Regions from separate parts of the Homo sapiens genome. Here all the other regions are linked to region 3. Evidence: promoter capture Hi-C in human tissues and cell types (Jung and others, 2019). All regions are on one chromosome and are shown on one strand. The core of a region is centred on a gene start or on the middle of the fragment in contact, and the rest is flanking DNA. Distances in the headings are between cores, read along the strand shown. Region 1 overlaps CYP27A1 (cytochrome P450 family 27 subfamily A member 1). Region 2 has its middle 14 kb from the start of CYP27A1. Region 3 holds the start of WNT6 (Wnt family member 6). Region 4 overlaps TTLL4 (tubulin tyrosine ligase like 4).

Evidence for each region. The method cuts DNA at HindIII sites, captures the fragments that hold promoters and counts their contacts. A contact is called where the count stands out against the background at its distance.
Region 1: a contact is called between a fragment that was not itself captured here and the fragment with the promoter of WNT6 in region 3, in 4 of the 25 tissues and cell types used here (H1 embryonic stem cells, IMR-90 fibroblasts, liver and 1 more).
Region 2: a fragment that was not itself captured here is called in contact with the fragment with the promoter of WNT6 in region 3 in 6 of the 25 tissues and cell types used here (H1 embryonic stem cells, bladder, mesenchymal stem cells and 3 more).
Region 4: a fragment that was not itself captured here is called in contact with the fragment with the promoter of WNT6 in region 3 in 3 of the 25 tissues and cell types used here (H1 embryonic stem cells, liver and spleen).

The regions. Positions count from the first base shown.
Region 1 is chr2:218,793,287-218,796,463 of GRCh38, forward strand. All of the region lies in intron 1 of CYP27A1 (cytochrome P450 family 27 subfamily A member 1), which reads left to right. Among named protein-coding and RNA genes, the nearest start is that of CYP27A1, 13 kb to the left of the region's middle. The HindIII fragment of the contact is 6,304 bases long and covers 1-3,177 here.
Region 2 is chr2:218,766,749-218,770,004 of GRCh38, forward strand. No RefSeq gene overlaps it. Among named protein-coding and RNA genes, the nearest start is that of CYP27A1, 14 kb to the right of the region's middle. The HindIII fragment of the contact is 7,453 bases long and covers 1-3,256 here.
Region 3 is chr2:218,858,502-218,861,759 of GRCh38, forward strand. It overlaps WNT6 (Wnt family member 6), which reads left to right and starts at 1,304. Exons shown (of 4, transcript NM_006522.4): 1 at 1,304-1,616. The coding sequence starts at 1,537. The HindIII fragment of the contact is 31,874 bases long and covers 1-3,258 here.
Region 4 is chr2:218,735,201-218,738,428 of GRCh38, forward strand. It overlaps TTLL4 (tubulin tyrosine ligase like 4), which reads left to right. Exons shown (of 20, transcript NM_014640.5): 3 at 2,379-3,228. The coding sequence starts at 2,477. Among named protein-coding and RNA genes, the nearest start is that of TTLL4, 26 kb to the left of the region's middle. The HindIII fragment of the contact is 3,995 bases long and covers 1-3,228 here.

The DNA of each region.
Region 1 (3,177 bases), core at 464-2,963, 65 kb before region 3:
GCTGGTCTTAAACTCCTGACCTCAGGTGATCCACCCACCTTGGCCTCCCAAAGTGCTGGGATTAGAGGCATGAACCATCCCACCTGGCCTAAAAGATACTTAAAAACAAAAAACCTGTACTCTTTGATAAAGGAGACTCAGTTTTCCGAACAATCAAAAGACATAAGACAGCATGAGACAGAATCTCTTCTTTCCTCTCTCTTTTTTCTTGTTGCAGTTTATGTAAAAAGTGAACAAAAATATTTTACTGTCTTATTAACACTACAGAAAATTTTATCCAAAAGAGAAATATTTCACTTTTGTATTAGTATATTATCATATTAAAACTAATTTTAATAAAACTTCATAAATACATTTATCAAATTTGTCATCTTTTAAACCACACATTTCCATAAACCTTTTGTTTCACATTTTCCCCAAGTTTCTCTTTCTTTTTTTTTTTTTTTGAGACATATTCTCACTTTTTCACCCAGGCTGGAGTGCAGTTGCACCATCTCGGCCCACTGCAACCTCCGCCCCCAGGTTCAAGCAATTCTCATGCCTCAGACTCCCAAGTAGCTGGGATTATAGGTATGCGCCACCATGCTTGGCTAATTTTTCGTATTTTAGTAGAGACAGAGTTTTGCCATGTTGGCCAGGCTGTTGTAGGACTTTCTTCTTAGTTCAATTAAAAATGGGGTCCTTGTCACACAACCAGGAAAGATTAGGCTCGCGGACACATAGAAGGGTGAGAAAAATGGAATTTATTGGGTGAAAAGGAAAAAAATTCAGTAAAGCTAGAGAGGTGCCTGTTAACAGGCCCCCATCTCACAGATTGAATCCCCAGGTTACCACCCTGGTACGGGAGAGGACAAGCTCCTCCCTCTGCAAACGGGTAAACCTCCCGAGGCTCCACCCCAGTGCGCGGACCAGTCGGAGTTTCTCCAGGGACCTCTTTTTACTTGGCTGTCTCATTCCCCACTCTAAAGAAGTACTTCTAACTGCCATTAGAATAAGGATTGGGATAAGGATGAAGATTGATCTTAACTGCTTCCTGCTGACAGCGGGCATAGTTTTGGGAAAATGGCAGTCATATCTCCCTCAGAGGCCTAAGGGTCCCCGGCAAAACGGGCCATTGTCAGAGGCTCTGGTTGCATGACCATTTGGAGTTTGATGGCCTGAAGGTGAGAAGAGACAAACCAGGTTATTAGAAAACATGTATCAAAAGGAGAAAAGGGCGGGTAAGATCAGCTCAAAAATCCCAAGGCCTTTTACCAGTTTGCCCAGGGAGAGGGAGGCCAAAATCCTGACTGGTTAAAAAAAACTTTACCCTTTTGCCGGCGTGTTGGGCTTCTGGGTTCCCTTCCCTTGAGCCCAATCCTGAACCAGCCAGTTTAAGGTTTGGGAAATTAACTTTTCCCAGTTTGGAGGATGCATCTGAGGGGAGTGTCCTGTAGTACAGAGCCACAATTACCTATCAGTGAAGAGAGGACAGAGGAGGAGAAAAGAAAAAAGAAGGCTCCTTTTCAAAGGGGTCCTAGGGGTTCAGGATGCATTTGAAAGGGTACAGACTGAAGAAGAATGGCTACTCATCTAGAAAAGAGAGGAGCAGACATCTCTGGTTCCCTTCTCTTCCTAGCAAATATCTGGGGTACATGAAGAAGAGAAGGAAGAGTATTCTCTTTCCCTCTTCCATCCTTGCATCCCTGAATCCTGACAACTGCGACAGGGTGCCACCCATGGGTGTCAAAGCGGCCTGAACCCATGAAGCAGGGAGGGCCTAGAGAATAGGAATTATCCACTCTCACCTATGTCTCTATTCCCACTAGTGTCAGTAGCCTTGGAGTTCCCTAGACCTCATTTATGCCATGGATACTAGCATGACTTTATCCATGAAATGAGAGGCTTGGCTTAATCAGCAGAAATTAGCCATGCTCACCTGTGCTGTGCCTTTTAACCTCTGTTATCATCTGCCTCTGGATCCTGTAGATCCAGTTTTCTTTCCTAGGGCTTTGACCCGAAGCTTGGAATTGAGTTTGGGACAAAATTGTGTCTCAGGGGGTGTTGCATGGACTTCTTATCATAAGCCAAATGCTAAGGTGAAACTGTGGAATCGAGTCCTCCTGCAACAAGGGAGAGAAAGGGATGTCTTGTGACACACCCAGATAACTGGTGGCTATGGTTATGCTTGCTAAGACTTGGGTGCATGGTGCTTGGTTTTGGTTAGCTCCCTTGGTCTTCCTTTCCCAAAAAGGAAACCTCCAAGTGATGGGCATCCTACTTATTCCTGTCACCTGACAGGATTTGCAGGATAATTGCTCAGAACCAGAATATTGACCCAGATTTTTACATTATCCATCTGAGCTGCAGCCAAAGATTGCTGGTTGGTTCACAGGAGCAGGCAGGGTTAGTCTAAAATGTAGGCAAAAACTTAAGAACAATGAATGAGTTTAGAATTTAATTACAAATGTATAAGTTTTGAAACATAATTTCTCTCTCTCCAGTCCTCATTTTTGTTAAAAAAAATCATAATAGGACTGAGTTGTTTGCAAAGTAGACTTTAGTCTTATACTTGGCCTGATTATTTGCATAAAGTACAGCAAGAATAATTATTTCTACATAGGCCTTTTAGATTGGCTTTGATGGAACTCTGTTCCAAAAGGAAGCTCAGATAAGACCTTTTAAAGCTGAGCCCAGCCATGGGTTTGTATCCTTAAATACCTGTGAGTTGGGTGATCCTCTCCTTTAAGGTCCCAAGATAAACTCGGAGCTCCTGGGCCTGTTAGAAAGTGACATTCTTTACTGACCACGGGTCAGGAACCCTGTACAGGGACTGTGTAGTCGAGGGTATAAGGCCAGTTTCTTTTCCAAAAGGGGCTTTTATTGGCTTGGCAAGTCGAGCTTGACTCCTTAAAGGGAAGCATACCTTTCTAGTCAAAGCCTTGGTAAAACAACAGTTTCTCCAATTGCATCCTGTTGCAAAAGAAAAATGGATTCTTATTGCACTGATGCAAACAACTATATTGCCATAAATTAAGAATACTCTGCTGGGTGCAGTGGCTCACGCCTGTAATCCCAGCACTTTGGGGGGCTGAGGCGGATGGATCACCTGAGGTTAGGAGTTCGAGACTAGCCTGGCCAACATGGTGAAACCCCCGTCTCTACTAAAAATACAAAAATTAGCCAGGCGTGGTGGTA
Region 2 (3,256 bases), core at 632-3,131, 91 kb before region 3:
TGCCATGTTGGTTTGCTGCACCCATTAACTCATCATTTACATTAGGTATTTCTCCTAAGGCCATCCCTCCCCTGGCCCCCCACCCCATGACAGGCCCCAGTGTGTGATGTTCCCTGCCCTGTGTCCAAGTGTTCTCATTGTTCAATTCCCACCTATGAGTGAGAACATGCAGTGTTTGGTTTTCTGTCCTTGTGATAGTTTGCTGAGAATGGTGGTTTCCAGTTTCATCTGTGTCCCTGCAAAGGACATGAACTCATCCATTTTTATGGTTGCCTGGTATTCCATGGTGTGTATGTGCCACATTTTCTTAATCCAGTCTATCATTGATGGACATTTGGGTTGGTTCCAAGTTTTGCAATTGTGAATAGTGCCACAATAAACATACATGTGCCTGTGTCTTTATAGTAGCGTGATTTATAATCCTTTGGGTATATACCCAGTAATGGGATCGCTGGGTCAAATGGTATTTCTAGTTCTAGATCCTTAAGGAATCGCCACACTGTCTTCCACAATGGTTGAACTAATTTACAGTCCCACCAACAGTGGAAAAGTGTTCCTATTTCCCCACATCCTCTCCAGCATCTGTTGTTTCCTGACTTTTTAATGATCGCCATTCTAACTGGTGTGAGATGGTATCTCATTGTGGTTTTGATTTGCATTTCTCTGATGACTGTGATGATGAGCATTTATTCATGTGTCGGCTGCAGAAATGTCTTCTTTTGAGAAGTGTCTTTTCATATCCTTTGCCCACTTTTTGATGGGGTTTTTTTTTTCTTGTAAATTTGCTTAAGTTCTTTGTAGATTCTGGATATTAGCCCTTTGTCAGATGGGTAGATTACAAAAATTTTCTCCCATTTTGTAGGTTGCCTGTTCACTCTGATGGTAGTTTCTTTTGCTGTGCAGAAGCTCTTTAGTTTAATTATATCCCATTTGTCTATTTTGCCTTTTGTTGCCATTGCTTTTGGTGTTTTAGTCATGAAGTCCTTGCGCATGCCTATGTCCTGAATGGTATTGCCTAGGTTTTCTTCTAGGGTTTTAATGGTTTTAGGTCTAACATTTAAGTCTTTAATCCATCTTGAATTAATTTTTGTATAAGGTGTAAGGAAGGGATCCAGTTTCAGCTTTCTACATGTGGCTAAGCCTGTTTTCCCAGCACCATTTATTAAATAGGGAATCCTTTCCCCATTTCTTGTTTTTATCAGGTTTGTCAAAAATCAGATGGTTGTAGATGTGTGGTGTTATTTCTGAGGCCTCTGTTCTGTTCCATTGGTCTATATATCTGTTTTGGAACCAGTACCATGATGTTTTGGTTACTGTAGCCTTGTAGTATAGTTTGAAGTCAAGTAGCATGATGCCTCCAGCTTTGTTCTTTTTGCTTAGGATTGCCTTGGCAATGCGGGCTCTTTTTTGGTTCCATATGAACTTTAAAGTAGTTTTTTCCAATTCTGTGAAGAAAGTCATTGGTAGCTTGATGGGAATGGCATTAAGTCTATAAATTACCTTGGGCAGTATGGCCATTTTCATGATATTCTTCCTATCCATGATCATGGAATGTTCTTCCATTTGCTTGTGTCCTCTTTTATTTCCTTGAGCAGTGGTTTTTAGTTCTCCTTGAAGAGGTCCTTCACATCCCTTGTAAGTTGGATTCCTAGGTATTTTATTCTCTTTGAAGCAATTGTGAATGGGAGTTCACTCATGATTTGGCTCTCTGTTTGTCTGTTATTGGTATATAGGAATGCTTGTGACTTTTGCACATTGATTTTGTATCCTGAGACTTTGCTGAAGTTGCTTATCATCTTAAGGAGATTTTGGGCTGAGACAAGGGGTTTTCTATATATACAATCATGTCATCTGCAAACAGGGACAATTTGACTTCCTCTTTTCGTAATTGAATACCCCTTATTTCTTTCTCTTGTCTGATTGCCCTGGCCAGAACTTCCAACACTATGTTGAATAGGAGTGGTGAGAGAGGTCATCCCTGTCCTGTGCCAGTTTTCAAAGGAAATGCTTCCAGTTTTTGCCCATTCAAAATGACATTGGCATGGGTTTGTCATAAATAGCTCTTATTATTTTGAGATACGTTCCATCAGTACTTAGTTTATTGAGAGTTTTTAGTACAAAGGGCTGTTGAATTTTGTCAAAGGCCTTTTCTGCATCTGTTGAGATAATCATGTGGTTTTTGTCTTTGGTTCTGTTTATGCGATGGATTATGTTTATTGATTTGTGTATGTTGAACCAGCCTTGCATCCCAGGATGAAGCAGGCTTGATTATGGTGGATAAGCTTTTTGATGTGCTGCTGGATTCATTTTGCCAGTATTTTATTGAGGATTTTTGCATCGACGCTCACCAGGGATATTGGTCTAAAATTCTCTTTTTTTGTTGTGTCTCTGCCAGGCTTTGGTATCAGGATGATGTTGGCCTCATAAAATGAGTTAGGGAGGAGTCCCTCTTTTTCTATTGATTGGAATGGTTTCAGAAGGAATGGTACCAGCTCCTCTTTGTACCTCTGGTAGAATTTGGCTGTAAATCCATCTGGCCCTGGACTTTTTTTGGTTGGTAGGCTATTAATTATTGCCTCAATTTCAGAGCCTGTTATTGGTCTATTCAGAGATTTAACTTTTTCCTGGTTTAGTCTTGGGAGGGTGTATGTGTCCAGGAATTTATCCATTTCTTTTAGATTTTCTAGTTTATTTGCGTAGAGGAATTTATAGTATTCTCTGATGGTAGTTTGTATTTCTGTGGGATCGGTGTTGATATCCCCTTTATCATTTTTTATTGCACCTGTTTGATTCCTCTCTCTTTTTTTCTTTATTAGTCTTGCTAGCGGTCTATCAATTTTGTTGATTCTTTCAAAAAACCAGCTCCTGGATTCATTGATTTTTTGAAGGGTTTTTTGTGTCTCTATCTCCTTCAGTTCTGCTCTGATCTTAGTGATTTCTTGCCTTCTGCTAGCTTTTGAATGTGTTTGCTCTTGCTTCCCTAGTTCGTTTAATTGTGATGTTAAGATGTTGATTTTAGATCTTTCCTGCTTTCTCTTGTGGGCATTTAGTGCTATAAATTTCCCTCCACACACTGCTTTAAATGTGTCCGAGAGATTCTTGTACATTGTGTCTTTGTTCTCATTGGTTTCAAAGAACATCTTTATTTCTGCCTTCATTTCGTTATTTACCCAGTAGTTATTCAGGAGCAGGTTGTTCAGTTTCCATGTAGTTTTGTGGTTTTGAGTGAGTTTCTTAATCCTGAGTTCTAGTTTGA
Region 3 (3,258 bases), core at 54-2,553:
AAGGTTGTTTGGAAGTGACCTCAGTCATCACTCTCTTGGAAGCGACCTCAGTCCCCACATTCAGGTCCCCCTCTCTACCAACAACCAGGAGCTTTCTTCTGGGCGCCTGACGTTTCTGCCATAGGGACTCGATCTGTCCTCCCCACTCCAGGACAGCTTTAAAGGTTGATGGTTGCTCTTGATGGTATGGCAGGGAGAATGTCCCACACCACCTGTCCCTTGGCACCCCGGGGCACGTCGGGGACGGGAGGGGCAGGGGCTGCTGCCCACTGCCAGCCGAATGGCATGATGAATGGAGCTGTCCCTCTTCCCCACGGAGCCTTTGATCTCCCCCTCGTGGGGAGGGGGCCAGGGGCATCAAAGACATTTTTGTGGCATTAGAAAATCTGATAAACGCCATCTCACCTGCAGCTGGCTCTCCCACCCCTTCTACCCGGGCCAGGTTGGGGGAGGAACTCGAGGCAGGGACTCTTGGACACGCGAGGCCGGGCTAAAGCGAATTCTGACCCCTCGATCTCTTGAAAGTCTGCGACCTCCATTCTCCCGCTCGCTTACAAGTGCCAGCGCTTGCGCGCACGCCCTGGAGCGGCTACTCTTGCCCTCTCATTTCCCCCACCTCCCCGCCCTAGAACGCGGGCTTGAGAGGTGGGATGGCTGGGGGAGCGAGAGCGGAGGCCCAGGGCTTCCTCCCTTCTTCAAGGAGAGGCTGACGAAGGGGCATGAGGCATCGAACAGGGACACGGAAAGAGATGACCCCTCCAGCATCCGCCTGTCGGGCGGTCCAGTTTGACAACCCTCGCCGAAGCACCCCGCGCCCCAGGCCAACTTCCTCTCTTGCCTCCGCGCCAGCATCTCCCTCCGCACCGCCCCCCGCCCCAAACTCCCTCATTCCTGGGAAGTTTTCTCTCTTTACAGTCAACAAACCTGTCAAACGTCTCCCTTCCAGCCCGTCCCCCATTCCTCAGCTCCTCTTTCTCCCCCCTCACCCCTCTCTACTCTTCTTCCCAGCCCTTCCTTGCCCCCGACTCCAGGCGGCCGCGAGCGGCGGGGGGCTCCAAGTCCGAGAGAGGCGAGGCGAGGGGGCGAAGCGGGCGGGTCCCACAGCCCGAAGCGCGCTGGGGCCCCGCCCCGGCACCCCGCTCCCGCCCTCCGCTGCGCTCCGCGCCAGCCGCCCCGGGGCGCACGGCTCGCTCCCGAGAGTCCCGCTGCCTGACTGTCGCAACTGCCACCTCCCTCCGGCCCCCTGCCCCCCGCCCCCGCCTCGGCCCCGCTCCCCTCCCACCTCCGCCCCCGGCTCTGATTTCTTCTCCCGAGCGAGCTCCGCAGGAGACACAGGCGCTGGCTGCCCCGTCCGCTCTCCGCCTCCGCCGCGCCCTCCTCGCCCGGGATGGGCCCCCCCGCCGCCGCCGGATCCCTCGCCTCCCGGCCGCCGCCGTTGCGCTCGCCGCGCTCGCACTGAAGCCCGGGCCCTCGCGCGCCGCGGTTCGCCCCGCAGCCTCGCCCCCTGCCCACCCGGGCGGCCGTAGGGCGGTCACGATGCTGCCGCCCTTACCCTCCCGCCTCGGGCTGCTGCTGCTGCTGCTCCTGTGCCCGGCGCACGTCGGCGGACTGTGGTGGTGAGTCCGGCTGTCCTGGCGCGGCTCTGGACCCTGGAGGGTGGGGACCCCGGGACCCAGGACAGACTGGGGTGTTCCGCAGCCTCCCGGCTCTACCTGCTCTCCGAGCCCAGCTTTCTGGCCTCGGCCGGGGGCGTTTCTGAACTCCACTTCGACGTTCCTAACCCTCGGGAACATTCTATTGTGTTTCCTCCTCCCGGGTTCTCTCCCACCCCCCGCCAAGTTATGCGCTCACCCAGCTCACCAAGGAACAGGCGAGTGGGTAGGAAAGATCTTTCGGGAAGACACATATCCGAGGAAAAGAATGTGTGAGGAGGGCCCTGGATTCAGGGTATGGGGCTGGATTTGGAGAAGACAGGAACAAGGTGGGAAGCCACAAGGCAGAGAGGGCCACACAGCTGCCCCTTCCCCGCCCTGCTTTGCCTACCAACCCACCGGCTTCTCTCTGGGCTCCTGAGGAGTGGGCCTTAGTGACGACAGAGGGAATATAAAGGGGAAAGTGAGTCAGGACCCTGGTTTTCTCTACCTCGTCCTCCCCAAGCAAGGAAAAGGAGGAGCGGAAGGAACCGGACCCAGGCGCCCGGCCCTTCCAGACCTGGGGGTCATGAATGAAAAAATATGTGCAGCCCGGGAGATACGGGACCGGGAGGGGTCCTGCGGGAAGGGAGAGGGGCCTGGCCAGCCAAGGGAAGGGGGCGTCTTCCCAGGCTTGGCCCTAGCTAGAAGGGACACCTAGGCAGCGAAGGTTGCGGGAGCTTCGAGCCTTGGGGGTGGGGGTGGGGCCGGGGCGGGGAAGGAGGGTGCCCGACCGGGACGGCTCAGAGATCCAGATCCAAAGGACTTTTTTCCCCCTAGGTCTCCAGAGCCGCAAACCCTCGCCCGGAATAGCTCAGTGTTTAGAGAGGAGAGACTTGGACAATAACGCTGACGGGTTAGCCAATCCTAAGAAGGCAGGGTCGTGTCTATTTGCATATTGCCATGTGATTGGCTGGATGCCGACCCTCCGCTCCTCCCTCGCCCCCCAGATTTGGAAGAGAGGCAGATCCCCGTGCTCTGGAGAGATAGGGAGTAGGATGCCCACACAGGGAGTGGCGGGCAGCAATCCCTACTCCGTGATGCGGAGAGCCGTCCGACGCTAGTGTCACGGAAAGGGCGAACCGAGGACGACCCAGGTCCTATCTAGGGAACATATGCCCTTTGATCCGGCTTAGTATAATGCAGTGGCAGCTTTGAAGCAGATAGATCTAAGATCTAAACATTATGTTTGTGATCTTGGGCTAGTCACTTCCTTTCCCTACCTCTCAGTCTTAACTGGAAATAGGATAACAGTCTCCCTACCTGGCAGGCTTGCTGGGAAGGTTAGGTGGGAGGACGTGTAGAATAATAGGACCTTAGGAGGTACTCAGTATGTACAGCGCCCCCCTCACAACCCAGCTTCTCCTGGCCAGGGTCCCCAGGAGTGAAAAAGGGGATTCATTTACATTTAAAATCCAGAGTTCCAAGGAAAATGTTGTAAAGGAATCTCTTTTCCCCATAAACGCCTAACTTTGCCCTTTTTCAAGGTGTGGGGATGGGGTCCCTCCCTGATGGCCATTGTCTTCCTTCCCCTCCCTCCCCCTCTGTCTAAATCATTCTTATCCTT
Region 4 (3,228 bases), core at 149-2,648, 120 kb before region 3:
ACTGTTAATCAGAATACAAGGTACTCTCCCCATTTTTGCATTTTAAATATAACTTAAGCGAAAAAACCATCTCTCCTAGGGCTGGGTTCAGTGGCTCAGGCTTGTAATCCCAGTTTATTGGGAGGCTGAGAGAGGAGGATCGCTTGAGGCCAGGAGTCGAGACCAGCCTGGGCAGCATAGTGAGATACCGCCACTCCCTATCTTAATAAAAAAATTTAAAAAAATCAACTGTGTGTGGTGATGCATGCCTGTGGTCCCAGCTATTTGGGAGGCTGAAGGGGGAGGATCATTTGAGTCCAGGAGTCTGAGGCTGCAGTGAGCCATGTTTGTGCCACTGCATTCCAGTTTGGGTGACAGAGCAAGACCCTCAAAACAAAACAAAACCTCTCTGCAAATTCCTTCCCTCTAGCTACTCTGAAAACACACTTGATGAGAATGTCAGGATTCCATTCAGAATTATCCCAGACAAATGACTCCTTTTTTTTTTTTTGAGACAGAGTCTCACTCTGTCACCCAGGCTGGAGTGCGATGGCGCGATCTCGGCTCACTGCAACCTCCGCCTCCCGAGGTCAAGCGATTCTCCTGCCTCAGGCTCCCAAGTAGCTGGGATTACAGGCACCCTCCTCCGTGCATGGCTAATTTTTGTATTTTTAGTAGAGAGCGTTTCACCATGCTGGCCAGGCTGGTCTTGAACTCCTGACCTCGTGATCCACCTGCCTTGGCCTCCCAAAGTGCTGGGATTACAGATGTAGCCACCGTGCCCAGCCTTTTTTTTTTTTTTTTTTTTTTTGTGAGACAGGGTCTCACTCTGTCACCCAGGCTGGAGAGCAGTGGTGCTATCTTGGTTTGCTGCAACTTCCACCTTCCATGCTCAAGCGTTTTTCATACCTCAGCTTCCCAGGTAGCTGGGACCACAGGCATGCGCCACCATACCTGGCTGATTTTTGTATTTTTTGTAGAGACGGGGTTTTGCGATGTTGCCCAGTATGGTCTCAAACTCCTGAGCTCAAGTGATCTGCCTGCCTCAGCCTCCTAAAGTGCTGGGATTACAGGTGTGAGCCATTGCACCTGGCCACGAATGACTTTTTACAGTTTTTGTTATTTCCCCCAGATGCTGCCATGAAAGCAGGCCCACCTTTCCTTACTGGAGAATATTTTGTGAATTTGATTTAGAAAGTAAGTGACCATGCTGAACAGTTTGAGACCCAGAAGGCTGGCTTACAGGTTTTGTATTAAAGGAAACACTGATTGAGAAGATGCAAAAGAGACAGGCTCTTCCTCCCTGAGATCAGCCCAAACTTAAGCCTGGGCTTTGGAGTAAAGAAAGCTTCTGTCCTCTTCTTACTCCCTGAACTCTCCTGTCCCAGTATGGCTGCTGGAAATAAAGTCACTTTAAGTAAAAATAATGCTGGTGTTTAGTTCAATTTCCTTTCTTCTTTTTCCCACCAACACACAGGATGGAATTTAAATCTGTATAGTTAGCAGAGATGAAATTGCTGTCTCAGCTCCAGAATAAACTCCGGGATCAGCAAGGGAATTCTCTTCTCCTGTCTGAACTTGTCCTATTTAACCATGAAAAGCAGACTAAATCAGAGGCAGCTGAGTTGATTTAGGGAGCAGTAGATGTAAAATGAGTTTTTCAGATCGTCTTTTTTTTTTTTTTTTCTGAGATGGGGTCTCACTCTGTTGCCCATGCTGGAGTACAGTGACACCAGCTCAGCTCACTGCAACCTCTGCCTCCCAGGCTCAAGCGATCCTCCCACCTCAGCCTCCCCAGTAGCTGGGACTTCAGGTGCACGCCACAATGCCTAGCTAATTTTTGGTAGTGACGGGGTTTTGCCATGTTGGGCAGGTTGGTCTTGAACTCCTGGGCTCAAGCTGGGATTACAGGTGTGAGCTGCCTCACCTGGACTCAAATAATCTTTAATCTTTCAGAATTGATTTATGAGAAGGAAGATACTGAGTCCTCTCTCTCACTTCAGATTTGCTTTATTCCTAGCCACACTGGTTTTGGGTGAGGGAAGGTAGCCCCTCATGGAAAGTTGTGGGCGGTGAGACAGAAAGATGTATTTTTTGTTGGAGAGAGAGGAAAGCTTTCTGAGTGACAGAGTGGGGACTCATAAGCAGCTTCACAGTGGTGGTGGCACCTCAGTGTTTTAGTCCGTAATGAAGCCAGCTTTGATCCTATGAGGGCAGTAGGAAGATCATTGAAAACTCCCTGGAAATCTGGTGTTCTTCTCCCAGTGCCCCAAATGACGACCAAGACTGGTTGCCCAAAAATGCTGAAGTGGGACTGTACTGCTTACCTGAGGACCACTGTAGCATGGTGTCCGTTCTCCTGGCACTGTAACATTTCCTATCATTTCTCTCCACTTCAGACTGACAGACTTCAAGGATGCAGCTGCTACTACCGGAGGTGTGTGGCACCTTACCTCAGCAAGGCCATGAGACCGTGTGGCCATGATGTGGGCCCCTCATGGCCTCAGCAGGAACACAGCACTATAGTATTGGCCTCCGCCAGAAAAACAGCTTCAAGCAGAGTGGTCCCTCAGGCACAGTACCTGCCACGCCACCTGAGAAACCCTCGGAGGGCAGAGTCTGGCCTCAGGCCCATCAGCAAGTGAAGCCAATCTGGAAGCTGGAAAAGAAGCAAGTGGAGACACTGTCAGCAGGGTTGGGCCCAGGCCTCTTGGGCGTCCCACCCCAGCCAGCATATTTCTTTTGCCCCAGCACTTTATGTAGCTCTGGGACCACGGCTGTCATTGCAGGCCACAGCAGTTCCTGTTACCTACACTCTCTCCCGGACTTGTTCAACAGCACCCTGCTATACCGCCGCTCCAGCTATAGGCAAAAACCGTACCAGCAACTGGAGTCTTTCTGCTTGCGTTCGAGCCCGTCAGAAAAAAGCCCTTTTTCTCTCCCTCAAAAGAGCCTCCCTGTCAGTCTCACTGCCAACAAGGCCACTTCTTCCATGGTCTTCTCCATGGCCCAGCCCATGGCCTCCTCATCCACAGAACCATACCTCTGCTTGGCAGCGGCTGGGGAAAACCCTTCAGGGAAGAGCCTGGCCTCTGCCATCTCAGGGAAGATCCCATCTCCACTCTCTTCCTCCTATAAGCCCATGCTGAATAATAATTCCTTCATGTGGCCAAATAGCACGCCAGTGCCTTTATTGCAGACCACACAGGGCCTGAAGCCAGTATCGCCACCCAAGATCCAGCCTGTCTC